3 separate regions of the Homo sapiens genome follow, and all the other regions are linked to region 3. The links are contacts of gene promoters, found by promoter capture Hi-C in human tissues and cell types (Jung and others, 2019). All regions are on one chromosome and are shown on one strand. Each heading gives the region's core, a stretch centred on a gene start or on the middle of the fragment in contact. The rest is flanking DNA. Distances are from core to core; before and after follow the strand shown. Region 1 overlaps CAMKK2 (calcium/calmodulin dependent protein kinase kinase 2). Region 2 holds the start of CAMKK2 (calcium/calmodulin dependent protein kinase kinase 2). Region 3 holds the start of MLEC (malectin).

Region 1 (4,868 bases), core at 307-2,806, 570 kb before region 3:
GGGATTACAGGCACCTGCCACCACGCCCGGCTGATTTTTGTATTTTTAGTAGAGATAGGGTTTTGCCACGTTGGCCAGGCTGGTCTCGAGCTCTTGACCTCAGGTGATTCGCCCACCTCGGCCTCCCAGAGTGTTGGGATTACACTGGCGTGAGCCACCGTGCCCAGCCCCCTGCCGTGTTTTCTTTGACCAGTGGATCCTGGGCCAATTTGAGCACTAGAAGTCAAGCCAGACTGTGGGCCTGGGGACGTCAGAAATCCCTGGTTCTTTGCCTTCTGATGGAAATTTAGCAAAGCAGGACCTTGGCCAGCTTGGTTCAGTGGACTGTTCCTCTCCCCAGCTCTAATACTAGTTTCTGTCTTTCTTGGTGTTTCTGGAGGTGGTTGGGAGGTGGGGAGGACAGAGAGAGATGGATGTTCAGTTTCCCATGTAACAGTTTCACCCTTTTCTTCCCTACAGTGTTCGAACTGGTCAACCAAGGGTGAGTGTCCCAGCTCCCAGCAGGGGTGATGCAAGAAGCTTCTGTAGCTGCATAGCTGAGTGAGGTGCCACTGGGCTCTGCTCATGAGAGAGGGCAAGGGCTGGCGGGTCTGCTTTGTGTTTCACATGAGTGTCGACCTTTCAGGCCCGTGATGGAAGTGCCCACCCTCAAACCACTCTCTGAAGACCAGGCCCGTTTCTACTTCCAGGATCTGATCAAAGGCATCGAGTACTGTGAGCAGGGCCTGCGGGAGGGCTCTCACCCAGTGGGTAGTTAGCATTCTGAGCGTGGGTGCAAAGTGGAAAGTGTCTTATTTTCTTCCTGGAGCACAGGGAGGTGGGCGGGTGGATTGGGGTCCTCTAGAGGGACAGAACTAATAGGAGATACATATATATATATAAAATTATATATATAAAATTATATATATAATTATATATATAAAATTATATATAATTATATATATATAAAATTATATATAAAATTATATATATAATTATATATATAATTATATATATATAAAATTATATATATAATTATATATATATAAAATTATATATATATAAAATTATATATATAATTATATATATAAAGGGGAGTTTATTAAGTATTAACTTACACGATCACAAGGTCCCACAATATAGTCTGTCTGCAAGCTTGAGGAGCAAGGAGAGCCCATCTAACTCTCAAAACTAAAGAACGTGGAGTCTGACGTTTGAGGGCAGGAAGCATCCAGATAGGAAAAAAACATAGGCTGGGAGGCTAGGCCAGTCTCACCTTTCACGTTTTTCTGCCTGCTTTATATTCGCTGGCAGCTGATTAGATTGTGGGTCTGCCTTCCCCAGCCCACTGACTCAAATGTTAATCTCCTTTGGCAACACCCACACAGACACATCCAGGATTAATACTTTGTATCCTTCAGTCCAATCAAGTTGACACTCAGTATCAACCATCATAGTGGGAAACAGAATTGTGTGAAATGCAGAATCAGGGCCAGCTGCAGAGAGCCACCCTATGGCCATGGTCCAGGCGAGCCAAAACCCTTCTTCCTGCCACTTGGCAAAATGAAGAGCAGTAGCAATAGTGACTATTTAGCACTTTCTATGTGCACCAGGCACTGTTTGGGGCTCTATTTTTTTTGTCTCTTATTCCTCCCAGTGACCCTGGGATCAGGGTCCTGTTCACCTCCTGGAACCTTAGCTTCCTCATCTGTAAAATGGGGATAACATATCTCTCACCAGGGCTGAGATCAGCCAGTACACATCAGTGGTTTGATTGGCAGGTGTCCTTTCTGCTTCTGCTTGTTAAACATCTTAGCTCTTTTTTTCCTTTGAGATTCTTGCCCTGTTGCCTGGGCTGGAGTGCAGTGGCGCGATCTCAGGTCACTGCAACCTCTGCCTCCTGGGTTCAAGCAATTCTCATGCCTCAGCCTCCCAAGTAGCTGGGACTACAGGTGTACGCCACCATGCCCGGCTAATTTTTGTATTTTTTGTAGAGATGGGGTTTCGCTATGTTGGCCAGGCTGGTCTTGAACTCCTGACCTCAGGTGATCCCCCTGCCTTGCCTCCCAAAGTGCTGGGATGACAGGCGTGAGCCACCGTGCCCGGCCACCACGTTATCTCTTATCCCTGCCTGTCACATAGGATGGTTGTGAGGTTTAATTAAATGTAAAATGTGAATGTGAAACACAACGCAGGGCCGGGCCCCTCACTTGGTGCTCTGCTGCTGCTTTCACTGAAATCGTCTTCATCATCATCATCACCCCAGAAATGGCAGTTGGGTCTTCCAGGCCATAGAACTGTCCTGTACCATGGGCTGATATCCAGCCAGGAGGAGTTAGCCAAGCCCCGAGTTCTGTGTGTGGTTCACATTTCAAATCGGCCTGCTCAGGTCATTGTCGGTTTGGTAAATCAGTTGAGTATTGGCTGTTGGTAAATGAAACTATGTTTCACTGTCAGTTTCACAACTAGCTGTGAGCCAAGCCCAGCAAAAACTTTCCATGCACTGTCACTTGTGACTTAATAAATAACAGGCGATTACGAATTGCTATTGGCAGTGTTTTATGTGTCATTGTTGAGAAGGGGTGGGGTGATGGTGGGCTGGGACTTCCTTGAAGACACTTTTCCCCTCATCTTTTAGAGCATGTCAGTGCCCAGCGGGTTTGGGGAGTGGAAGGTTGGAAAAGGCCTGGGGCTGTGGGAGACAAGGCATCAGAGGGGTGCCATGCCTGTGTCTCCAGGCCATGTGGCCGCATAGAGGTGCTCACGAGGTTTTCCTGCCCCTATCTCCCACCTGCTGTCTACGCCTCCCCAGTACACTACCAGAAGATCATCCACCGTGACATCAAACCTTCCAACCTCCTGGTCGGAGAAGATGGGCACATCAAGATCGCTGACTTTGGTGTGAGCAATGAATTCAAGGGCAGTGACGCGCTCCTCTCCAACACCGTGGGCACGCCCGCCTTCATGGCACCCGAGTCGCTCTCTGAGACCCGCAAGATCTTCTCTGGGAAGGTAAGCTTGGGCCTGCCTCAGCCACAGAGTTCTGCCTGTGTTAGTGTCTTCTGGATTGTAAGCAGCAGAAACCCAACGCACACAGGCTTAAACAGTGAATCCCCTGGATCAAGATACTGAGGGGTAGGCTTCAGGCTTGGCTAGATCCAGGGACTCAAACAGAAACCATCTCCCGCCATCTTTCAGTTGTTTTTCTTATTTGGTTTCCTCCACAGGTGGGTCAGGCACCCAGGGACCAGGTTACTTTCTATCATTTGCCAACCTCAGTGGCAAGAGCATTCCTCATTCTGAATAGTGCCTGTGAAAACCCTGGGGTTGGCTCTGATTGGCCCAACATGGGTCATGTGCCCATGCTTGAACCAATCACTGTGGCTGGGGGTAGTGGTGCTCTCATTGGCCTGGCCTGGATCCTGTGCCTGCCCCAGAGCCTAGGAGACAAGATTGGTCCCGCCCCAACTCCAAGGGCTGAAAGTCAAGAGGTGGTTCCCCAAAGGAAAACTGGAGGATTGGAGGCTGGACCACCCCTTATGCCCTCACACTAAGCTCTTTTTCTTGCAGGCCTTGGATGTTTGGGCCATGGGTGTGACACTATACTGCTTTGTCTTTGGCCAGGTAAGAGGGCGGGGTGTCTGTCCCCTCAGTACTGCTGGGTGGCCCCTGGGTTAATAGTCACCCTTGCGGGGAGACAGTACTTACTTATTTAAGAGTTATTTTAGGCTGGGCATGGTGGCTCACGCCTGTAAACCCAGCACTTTGGGAGGCTGAGGCAGAGGTTAGGAGTTGGAGACCAGCTTGGCCAACATGGTGAAACCCCGTCTTTACTAAAAATACAAAAAATTAGCCAGGCGTGATGGCGCATGCCTATAGTCCCAGCTACTCTGGAGGCTGAAGCAGGAGAATCGCCTGAACCCAGGAGGCGGAGCTTGCAGTGAGCTGAGATTGCACCATTGTATTCCAGCCTGGGCAACAAGAGCGAGACTCCGTCTCAAAAAATAAAATAAGAGAAGAGTTATTTTATTTCTACACCTAGATCTCAATGTGAAAAAGGATGCCTTCCTAAATATACATGTGTATGTATGTCATGATCATATCTATGAAAAAATGATCTGTTAAAACAGAAGGATTGGCAGAGGCTCTAGAGTTTATAAATAGTTGATAAATTTAGGGCAAGGACAGCAGTTCTGCCACCTCTCCCATTTCTGAGCCCAAGGCAGACATCACTAATCAATAACTGTGCTCGTTCCTCCTGAGCCTGATACTGCTCTGATGTTCTTTCCGTCAGGGTATTCCTAGAAGCTTTTGTCAGAGGGGTAGCATTGGAATGGAAGTTAAAAGCTGTTTACCATTATTGATTTAGGGAGTGCTGTTTGGGCTTTTCTGTTGTTGTTATTTTGTTATTATTGATATCTGGGGGCTTCTCTCTCTATTTTTTTTTTTTTTTTTTTTGAGATGGAGTCTTGCTCTGTCACCCAGGCTGGAGTGTAGTGGTGCGATCTCGGCTCACTGCAACCTCCGCCTCCCGGGTTCAAGCCATTCTCCTGCCTCAGCCTCCTGAGTAGCTGGGACTACAGATGCCAGCCACCACACCCGGCTAATTTTTGTATTTTTGTAGAGATAGTGTTTTGCCATGTTGGCCAGACTGGTTTCAAACTCCTGACCTCAAATGATCTGCCAGCCTGGGCCTCCCAGAGTGCTGGGATTTGGGATTACAGGTGTGAGCCACCACGCCTGGCCTTCTCGTTTTAACTCTGAAGTTCAGTTTGATTATGTGAGCAATAAAAACGTAGATTTTTCCCTTTCCTGAGCTTGTGTTCTTATTGAGGAAAGCCTAAGAAACTGGTCCCATGAAGAAGTAAAGGAGTTTATACCGATTGCCT
Region 2 (4,567 bases), core at 341-2,840, 610 kb before region 3:
AGGTCGAGGGTGCAGCGAGCCGTGATCGTGCTACTGCACTCCAGCCTGGGCAACACAGAGAGACCCTGTCTCAAAACAAACAAACAAACAAACAAACAAACAAACAAAAAAAACAAAGAAAAAAAAATGGGAGTGGGCCGGGCGCGGTGACTCACACCTGTAATCCCAGCACTTTCGGAGGCCAAGGCGGGTGGATCACGAGGTCAGGAATTCAAGATTAGCCTGGACAACATGGTGAAACCCCATCTCTACGAAAAATACAAAAATTAGCCAAGTATGGTGGCCGGCGCCTGTAATCCCAGCTACTCGGGAGACTGAGGCAGAGAACTGCTTGAACCTGGGAGGCAGAGGTTGCAGTGATCCGAGATCGCGTCACTGCACTCCAGCGTGGGCGACAGAGCGAGACTCCGTTTCAGAAAAGAAAAAAAAAAAAAAAAAAAAGGGAGTCGGGGTGGAGCTCTCATTGGCTCGTTGCATGTGAGTGTCCCTACGGCCTAGAAATACAAGAGAAGCACATCGGAACGGGCTGGAAATCCACCCAGTTAACTAGAGGGCTTTGAACCTTTTATTAACTTGGAGGTTGACTCTCCTGTCAACTCGATTCCCTTTTGGCTGTTTGGCAGGGTCAGTGAGACATCCCCTGGGTCGCTCGACCCCGTAGGACGGTTCAGGGAGCCCTCCAGGTCTTCGTTTCTCCTCTTCCCCGCACAGTGCTGTTATCCAGCTGGGGGATCCAACGCACACTTAAGGCTCCAGCAAAGTAAGTGCCAAAAAGGGGAGAATGGGAAGAATATGCTGTATTTCACAAAAAGCATCTAAGTAGCCATCTGGAAAAGCCAGAATGAACTTCAATGGTGCATCCAGGTGGGCTGGGGATGGGAGAGGAACGCCTTCCCCCAGCCTTTAGGGCCGGCCCTGAGCAAGTGGTCAGTCGGCAGGCAGCTGCGGAAGGGGGCTCCCCCGAGTCGGTGGTGGCCCAAAGTCCAGGCCGCATCCACCGCCCGGCGCCTAGCGCAGGGGCAGCAGCCGGGTCGCCACAGGAGGGGCCCCGGGTGTTCTTGCCGGCTTGGGGGAACTTTCCCAGGGTCAGCCCGGAGGCGCCCTGCAGCCCCGGCATTTGGCTAAACAAAGCAAGCGCTGCCGGCGCGGCCCGCCCGAGGGCGCCGCGGGAAGAACCTGGGCAGGTGCGCGCCGCGGGCGAGCGGGTACAAAGTTGCGGCGCCACCTCCTGCGCTCCGCGCCCCTCCAGGCTCTCCTCCCAGCCGCCTCCGATCCTCCCGGCCGGGCCTCTCTTCCCCCGTTCTTCGCCTCCTCCCTTTCTGCTCCTTGCCCTTCGCCTCTTCGCTACTTTCGTCTTTGCAGGCTCCCGCCTCCCCACCCCTCCCCGGCGCAGGGCCGAGCCGGCGGGGGCGCGCAGGGGGCGGTGCGCGGCGGGCGCGGGCGGTTCCGCTTTCGGGTTTCCCGCCGCCGTGGCCAATCCCCGCGCTGCCCGGGGCGGCGACGCGCCCAAGCCGAGCCGGGCGGCTCCTCCCGCCCCCGCCCCCCGCGCGCCCGCCGCCCGGGCGGAGGAGAGGAGCGCGCGGCCGCGCAGAGCAAGCTGAGCCGAGCCGAGCCGAGCTGGGGGCGCAGAGCGCGGGAGGCGGCGGCGGCGCGGAGCCCAGGTGAGCTGGCGGTAGCCGGGCCCGGGGCAAGGGACGCAGCCGCCGCGGCCCCGGGCGCCCGCTCCGTTTCCCTCTCGAGGCGGGGGACCGCCGCCGGCATGGCACACAAAGCCCGGAGGCTGGCCTGGGGCTCCCAACACGGAGGGACCCCACGTGCGCCTCCCCACGCCCCGCCACGTGGAGGGACACGGTCCCCGACAGCCCTTCCCCCGCGTCCTCTGGGCGCCCTGGGCCTCGGGATGGCCTCCTCGGCTGGGCCGCGCCCTGTCCGGGTGGCAGGGGCGGTCCTGGAGTTTGGAACCGGGGTCACCGGGGGCCGGGTCCGTCAGGGTTCGTGGAGGCGGCCTAGGCCCAGCCCCTCGCGTTTGACAGGTGGGGAAATCTGGAGCGTTCCGGGGAAGAGAGGACCAGCGGACTTGGAGCACCCCCACCCCGCAGCCTGCCTGTCTCGGGGCAAACCCAGGCCCTGGTGGCTTGGACACCAGGTGGCAGGACCCTAGGCCAGCAGTTGTGGGGACCTAGGGGACCTTTGGCTGTCTTCGGTCTGCCCTTTGACCACCCCCACCGCACCTCTTCTCTCAGCCGGAGCCTCACAGGCTTGGTCCTTCTGACCTAAATTCACCTCGGGGTTGCAGTATGCTGTGAATGCGGAGAGGCGTCCGCCTGACTCTCAGGGACACTGGACCCAGCCCCTCTCAGCATTGGGGCTCTGTGCCTGGGGTGCCACCCGACCCAGCCTTGAGCTTTTCCTGGCTTTCCCCCAGCCCCTGCACTGCCTAGCTGGGGAAGTGGGTGCTTTCACAGCTCTGCCAGCCTGCCCTCCTGGCCACTCTCACTTAGTGCTGGACAGGATGCAGCTCAGCCCCTCCGATCTCCCCGAGAAGGCTGAGCTTTGGGGAGGGCGTCTCAGTGCTATCAGCAAGAGAGGGATACCTGGCCTCCGGATGGGACCTGCAGCGTCCATCTCCCTACAGGCTACTTTTACCTTCCCCAGCCTGGTGTTTGGAGTCTCCACGCAGGGGATAGAAACTTCAGGTGCCCTAGAGCTGTGCTGCCATTTACCACTCCCCCTCCCCTAGCTCTGCCCCCAGAGGAGAGAGAAGAGGATGGCTTTATGTCCCCATAAGCTCCTTTGTTCCTTGGAGGAGGCGGGGGCTGCAACAAGGGGAGGGCTTTGGGGGAGTTAGCCACCCTCTTCCCTAATCACCCCACAAAAACATGCAGTTTCAGAATAAATAGTGTGCATGCCATGCAAATGCAGCTTTAGGGCAAGCCCCACATACCCCTTCCAGACTGCTGCTCATACACCCTTCCTATGGAGGAAGCAGGCATTGGTGACACACACCCTTCCTATGGAGGAAGCAGGCATTGGTGATGAGGACGCAAAACATATTTTTGTAATGAAGAGTAATAGCCATCATTTGATGAGCCCCTAACTTGGATAATAATAAGAATACTTATTTATTTATTTTGAGACGGAGTCTCTGTTGCCCAGGGTGGAGTGCAGTGGCACAATCTTGGCTCACTGCAACCTCCGCCTCCCGGGTTCAAGCGATTCTCATGCCTCAGCCTCTCCAGTAGCTGGGATTACAGGCGCCCACCACCATGCCTGGCTAATTTCTGTATTTTTAGTAGAGAAGGGGTTTCACCATGTTGGTCAGGCTGGTCTTGAACTCCTTACCTCAAGTGATCCGCCTACGTCAGTCTCCCAAGTGCTAGGATTACAGGCATGAGCTGCCACCTGGCCCTGGACAATAATAATAATAACAGTATTAAAAACTAACATCTATTGAGTTCTTGCTGCCTGCCAGATTCTGTGCTATGTGTTACATGCATTATCTCATTTAATGCCTACCAAATCCTACAACGTAGGGAATTTTAACCCCATAGTAGAGATTAGGAGACTGAGGTTTACAGAAATCCTGCAGTGTTGCTAGGATTTAGCCCCATTTTATAGAAGGGCTCAGAGAAGTTAAGTAACTTGCTCAGGGTCACACAGCCAGTGCAGGCATGTCAGGCCTTAGAACCTTTGTGCACCTGTTCAAGAGCAGAGACCCTGGCAAGGCTGCCCTGAGCTTCTTGAGGAGCCCAGGAGTTTGTTTTGTTTTGTTTATTCACTACATCAGTGTTTGCCGATGCAGCTCTATGCAGGGTCTGTAGTACTGCCCATCCTTAGATATGGCTAGTGGGCTGGTAGCTAAATATAGTCACTAATAACAATGCACTAGTTCTCATCCGGGGGTGGTCCCACCCTCCTGGCAGGGATTTGGGAAAGTGTGGGGGCGACTTTTGGTTGTCAAAATGATGCTAAGCACTCCTGGCTTTTAGTGGGCGGGAGTCAGGGATGCCTACTAAAGTGTCCTGTAGGCAGGCCAGGGCCACGACATAAAGAATCACCCTCCCCTGGCTGGGCGTGGTGGCTCACGCTTGTAATCCCAGCACTTTGGGAGGCCGAGGCAGGAGGATCACCTGAGGTCAGGAGTTCGAGACCAGCCTGGCCAACATGGTGAAACCCCATCTCTACTAAAAATACAAAAATTAGCTGGGCGTGGTGGCACACACCTGTAATCCCAGCTACTTGGGAGGCTGAGGCAGGAGAATCACTTGAACCTGGAAGGCGGAGGTTGCAGTGTGCTGAGATCGTGCCATTGCACTCCAGCGTGGGGCACAAGAAGGAGACTTCCTCTCAAAAAACAAACAAAAAACAAAAAAAAATCACCCTCCCCCAAATGCCAGCAGTGCCACTGTTGAGAAACACCACAAGGAATGAGTGCTGTTGTGATCGAAGGAGCACAGGGCACTGAGGGTTCTGGAGAAATCTCCTCAGACTGGTGTGAATCTGGGAGGCTCCCTGAAGGAGGTGTCATTTGTGCAGAGCCTTGAAGGATGGGCCAGAAATGGGAGAT
Region 3 (4,316 bases), core at 188-2,687:
TACTGCCAATTTGGTAGCCTCTGAACCCAGCATACAGTATCAATCTCCTAGCAAAGAACTTCCTTCTGAAACCTGTTTTCCAATCCCTCCAACAGAAGAAACAAAGATTATAAAGCTGATCTTCCAAAACGGTGGTCTCGGGGCAACCTACATCACAAGCCCCTGGTGCAGAAACCTGGATCCCAGCAAAAAAGCTCAATCTACTATAATCAATTTCGAGTGGGGACTAGGAATCTGCATTTTTAACCAGCTGCCCTGGCAATTCTGACACACACTAACTTTGGGAAGGGAGCAGCTCCGTTAAAAACCACTGTTGCCCAGCAAGTTAAGTCACAATCATTTTCCCCCTAAGCTGGAATTAGAACTCTCAGGATCACCTAGGGGAGGTTGTAAGCATTCTCTGATAGACCATTCGGATTCTTACACTGGTTGACCCAGTTCACACACAGCCACCAGCCTCACGTGCAGGATGGCTTCGATAGAACCACCCTCTGGGGGCGGCCTGCCGATTCTACTTTTAAGCACACATATTCTTCGCTCGAAAAGAGGGCGGGGGAGGAGGCTACAATCAAACTTTCCTGGCCCATTCTCTTCGAAGATTCCTTCCTATTCTGGCTAAGAATCAAGCCCCGCTCCTGCAGAAGGGGCAAGGAAAGCGGCCGATTCCTGGGTCGACGAGAATCTCCCAAGAACTGTCTCGACAGGAGAAGCAGGGGCACCCATGACCTACAACCCGCGAGGCCTGGAGGTAGCAAAAGGCCGCCTTCGTCATTTCTCTCCCAGCTTGGATGGGAGTGAGGGGTTGAGAAAATGCAGGATGAGAAATCCAAATATAACTAACTTCTGGCCAACTCTCTGCCTGTATGACTCTAGGTACCTTGGAGCCAGTGCCAGGCCCTGAGCTCAGAGCGGGCCCCCGAAGAAGCTGCAGAGAGAAACTTCGCTCCAGAGACGCGGCCCCAGGGTCGAAAGGGGCTCGGGGCCCGCAGCCCCCGGCCGGCTGCGCCCAGCACAGCAGGCCCTGGATCCCGCGGCTCGGCAGGGGGACTCTCACCTCGGCCCACCCGGCCTTCCAAAGGGTCCTTGCGGAAGTGGATCCCGTGCACGTCCACATGCGCCTCTCCACCCGCGTTGACCGCCCAAATGACGCTCTCGGGCAGCCCGGCCCCCGCCGCGCCGGCCACGCCGGCCACGCCGAGCCCGGGTCCCCGGATCGCCGGCGGCAGCAGCAGCAGCAGCAGTCGCAGGAGCGCCACAGCGGTTCCCTCAACCGCCCAGGCTCCCAGCATGGCGGCCACCACCACGGGGGCAGCCCCCGCCGACCCTCGTCCTCGGCCGGCTGCCAGGCCACCCCGGACTCAGAAAAACAGCGCCACGGGCCGCTCCGCCTGAGCCGCCGGGGACATGTCGCTCTCAGGCCTCCTTCTTCTCAGCCACGGGTACCGCCTCCCACCTCAGGAACAACCTACCCCGCCGCCCTGCCCCCGGCCACGACGCTGCAGCCAATCAGCGCCCGGCCCTCATTAATTACCCACCACCCCGCCGGGAGGCGCCCGCTCATTGGCTGTCAGGCGCGGGAAAGGGCGTGGCTTCTCCCAGGCGCCGGCCCAGCAGTCGGGCACCAGATGGAGCGCGCGCAGAGGGAGTGAGTTCGGTTGAAGCGGCGGTTCGATGCGGAAGTGGCGGGTGCAGCGCCCAGGCGGCCCCGGAATCCCACAGCTGAATGGGAAAGGTGGCCTGGGGGGGGAAGGTTTAGGGTAGGGCGCACTGACATGTCGCCAGCACTTCCGGTGCTCTAGCTCCTGAGACCAAATAGGCTCTGGAGGGGGCGTGGCCGACTTTCCCGCCCCCTCTTCTTTTCTCAGGGAGCAGCATGAGCATAAATTCTAGTAGGAGAAGCAATGGACACTCTCCAGACCTAAGAGACGCAGTCCTTTTCCCCGCGTGAGGGAGAGGACCCATGCTTTCCCAGAGAGGCCGCGGACACAGGTCTCCAGGGAACGAATCCCATGAGAATAAGGCCCCGCCCCCTCCCCTTAGCGGGCTCGGGGCGGGTGGTAGCGTCCAGACGGCCGTCCAATGAGAAGGCTCCAACGCAGCGGAAACGCGTGGCTTTGAGAGCGAGTGGGTGCCAGGCTGCTCGCGTCTCCATGGCGACGGCCTCTGGCCGGCCTCCGCTGCGTAGGGGCGGGACCGAGGCACCCTAGGCGCTGGCGGGAGTCGCCGCCGGCGGTGCCCAGAGTGGATACCGGGGTTGTCCCGCACGGGCACGGCCCGAACTCCCTCCCTGCTCCTTCACAGTTCACCTGGCGCTCTCCCACACTGGCGATCCCTGCGCTTCGGTCGCTGTTCAAACTCCCATTTTTCCGATGGGGAAACTGAGGCATAGAAAGGGACTGAATTTTGCCAAAGGGTCGCACCGCAAGTGTAGGGCAGAGTCAAGGCAAAAACAAAAAAAACAAAAAAACGCTTATGCATTTTCCATAAATACTGGTCGATTTAGAAATTCTCCCTAAAAGGAAAAAAATGTATCAAGTCCCTGCTACCAGGGTTGTCAGATTTGGCAGATAAAATAGGAGAAGCCCAGTTATATTTGAATTTCAGATAAGCAAATGGGACCCACTTATACTAAAAAAAAAAATGCATTGTTTATTAAAATTTAAACAACTGGACTTCTTGTATTTTATCTACCAATCCTACCTACTACTTAGGCAATGAGCTTTGTGCTACATGAACAAAAAACACACCTGGGGTCCCGCATGAGAATCATAGACTTTGCACAACCCATAATGAAATTAATTGTTTAGTTAGAACAGTGGTAAGTGCTATACGGGAACAAAACAGGGTGCCAAAATAGAGACTATCAGTGGTGGATCTAAATGCACCCAAATTCCTTCCCAGGCCCCAAATTCAGACCCCATGGGGGTAACTTTTGGAAGTGTTCCCTCCCGGTCTCACTTTCCCCCCTATTTTGCAAGCATCTGGCCTTACTTCCTCCCATAGACATGTTTCCTGTCCAAGGTGTTTCTTTTTTTTTTTTTTTCTGTCTTTTTTGGAGACAGAGTCTTGCTCTGTCGCCAGGCTGGAGTGCAGTGGTGCAATCTCGGCTCATGGCAACCTCCACCTCCCGGGTTTAGGCGATTCTGCTGCCTCAGCCTCCTGAGTAGCTGGGACTACAGGCGCGCGCCACCACACCCAACTAGTTTTTTTTATTTTTATTAGAGACCGAGTTTCACCATGTTGGCCAGGATGATCTCGATCTCCTGACCTCGGGGTCCGCGGCCTCCCAAAGTGCTGGGATTACAGGTGTGAGCCACCACACCTGGCCTCTTGGGGTTTCTAATTCTACTATTCTCTCTCTCAAACTGTCATCTTTTAAGGATCTTGACAACTCAGAGGCTTCAGTTACCCTCAAAGGAGGGGTGTGGTGCAAATGGGGAACAGAAACACAAGTAGTGGTGATGGGGCTTCCTCCCTCCAGGCAGTTGGCCTGCAGAGCCCACGTACCACTCAGGTATTGCACTGCCACCAGGCGCTCATGTTTATTTTATCCTCAAGGCAGTCTAGTCCAGGAGAAACAATCACAAAAACGGATTAAATTTTGGGGGAGGCCTCTAAAGGCTTTCTCTCAGTCCTTCGTGTCTTTGGTCACCCCAGAGGGTGAAGAAGATACCCGGCTGGCTCCTGTTATTGAGCCCTTCAGATACCATTCGTGGTTGGGCCATCTGTGTACCAAGGAGCTTGGCTCCCTTTCTGAGATCCAGCTGCTCATGAATTAGGCTGTCTTTTCAGTAAAACGTAAAGTCTGAGACCCTGGAGGCAGGGTATGGGATCCGAGCGTGGGATCTAAGACAGGCTGCCTGCATCCCATGCCTAGTCCCATTTACCCACTGTGTGGCCTTGGGCAAGTGATGTACTTCGCTGAGTTTCAGTTTCCTCAGTTGTGAAATAGAGATACAGTCATGAGTCACTTAATGACAGGGATGCGTTCTGAAAAATGCATCATTAAGCGATTTTGTCATTGTGCAGAGATCACAGAGTGTACTTACACAAACCTAGATGGGGATAGCCTGCTATACACCTAGGCTATATGGTATAGCTGATAGCTCCTACACTACAAACCTCTACAGCATGTTACCTTACTGAATACTGTAGACAGTTGAACACAATGGTAAGTATTTGCGTATCTAAACACAGATACAGTATAAACACAGTATTGGCCAGCCTAGTGGCCCATGCCTGTAATTCCAGCACTTTGGGAGGCTGAGGTGGGTGGATCACTTGAGGCCAGGAGTTCGAGACCAGCCTGACCAACA

The links. Contacts are between HindIII fragments. The study calls those that stand out against the background at their distance.
Region 1: a contact is called between a fragment that was not itself captured here and the fragment with the promoter of MLEC in region 3, in 1 of the 25 tissues and cell types used here (dorsolateral prefrontal cortex).
Region 2: the fragment with the promoter of CAMKK2 here is called in contact with the fragment with the promoter of MLEC in region 3 in 2 of the 25 tissues and cell types used here (liver and mesenchymal stem cells).

Annotation. Positions count from the first base shown.
Region 1 is chr12:121,251,396-121,256,263 of GRCh38, reverse strand. It overlaps CAMKK2 (calcium/calmodulin dependent protein kinase kinase 2), which reads left to right. Exons shown (of 17, transcript NM_001270485.2): 8 at 460-481; 9 at 626-714; 10 at 2,792-2,991; 11 at 3,550-3,603. Among named protein-coding and RNA genes, the nearest start is that of CAMKK2, 43 kb to the left of the region's middle. RefSeq lists an enhancer at 171-671. The HindIII fragment of the contact is 4,173 bases long and covers 1-3,642 here.
Region 2 is chr12:121,293,732-121,298,298 of GRCh38, reverse strand. It overlaps CAMKK2 (calcium/calmodulin dependent protein kinase kinase 2), which reads left to right and starts at 1,590. Exons shown (of 17, transcript NM_001270485.2): 1 at 1,590-1,661. RefSeq lists a silencer at 905-2,054. The HindIII fragment of the contact is 15,221 bases long and covers 1-4,567 here.
Region 3 is chr12:120,684,270-120,688,585 of GRCh38, reverse strand. It overlaps MLEC (malectin), which reads right to left and starts at 1,437. Exons shown (of 5, transcript NM_014730.4): 1 at 1,055-1,437. The coding sequence starts at 1,289. LOC105370029 (a long non-coding RNA gene) reads left to right here and starts at 1,437. Exons shown (of 3, transcript XR_945449.3): 1 at 1,437-1,732. RefSeq lists silencers at 1,079-1,378, 2,219-2,318, 3,433-3,522 and enhancers at 1,133-1,634, 1,729-1,858, 1,949-2,058. The HindIII fragment of the contact is 30,224 bases long and covers 1-4,316 here.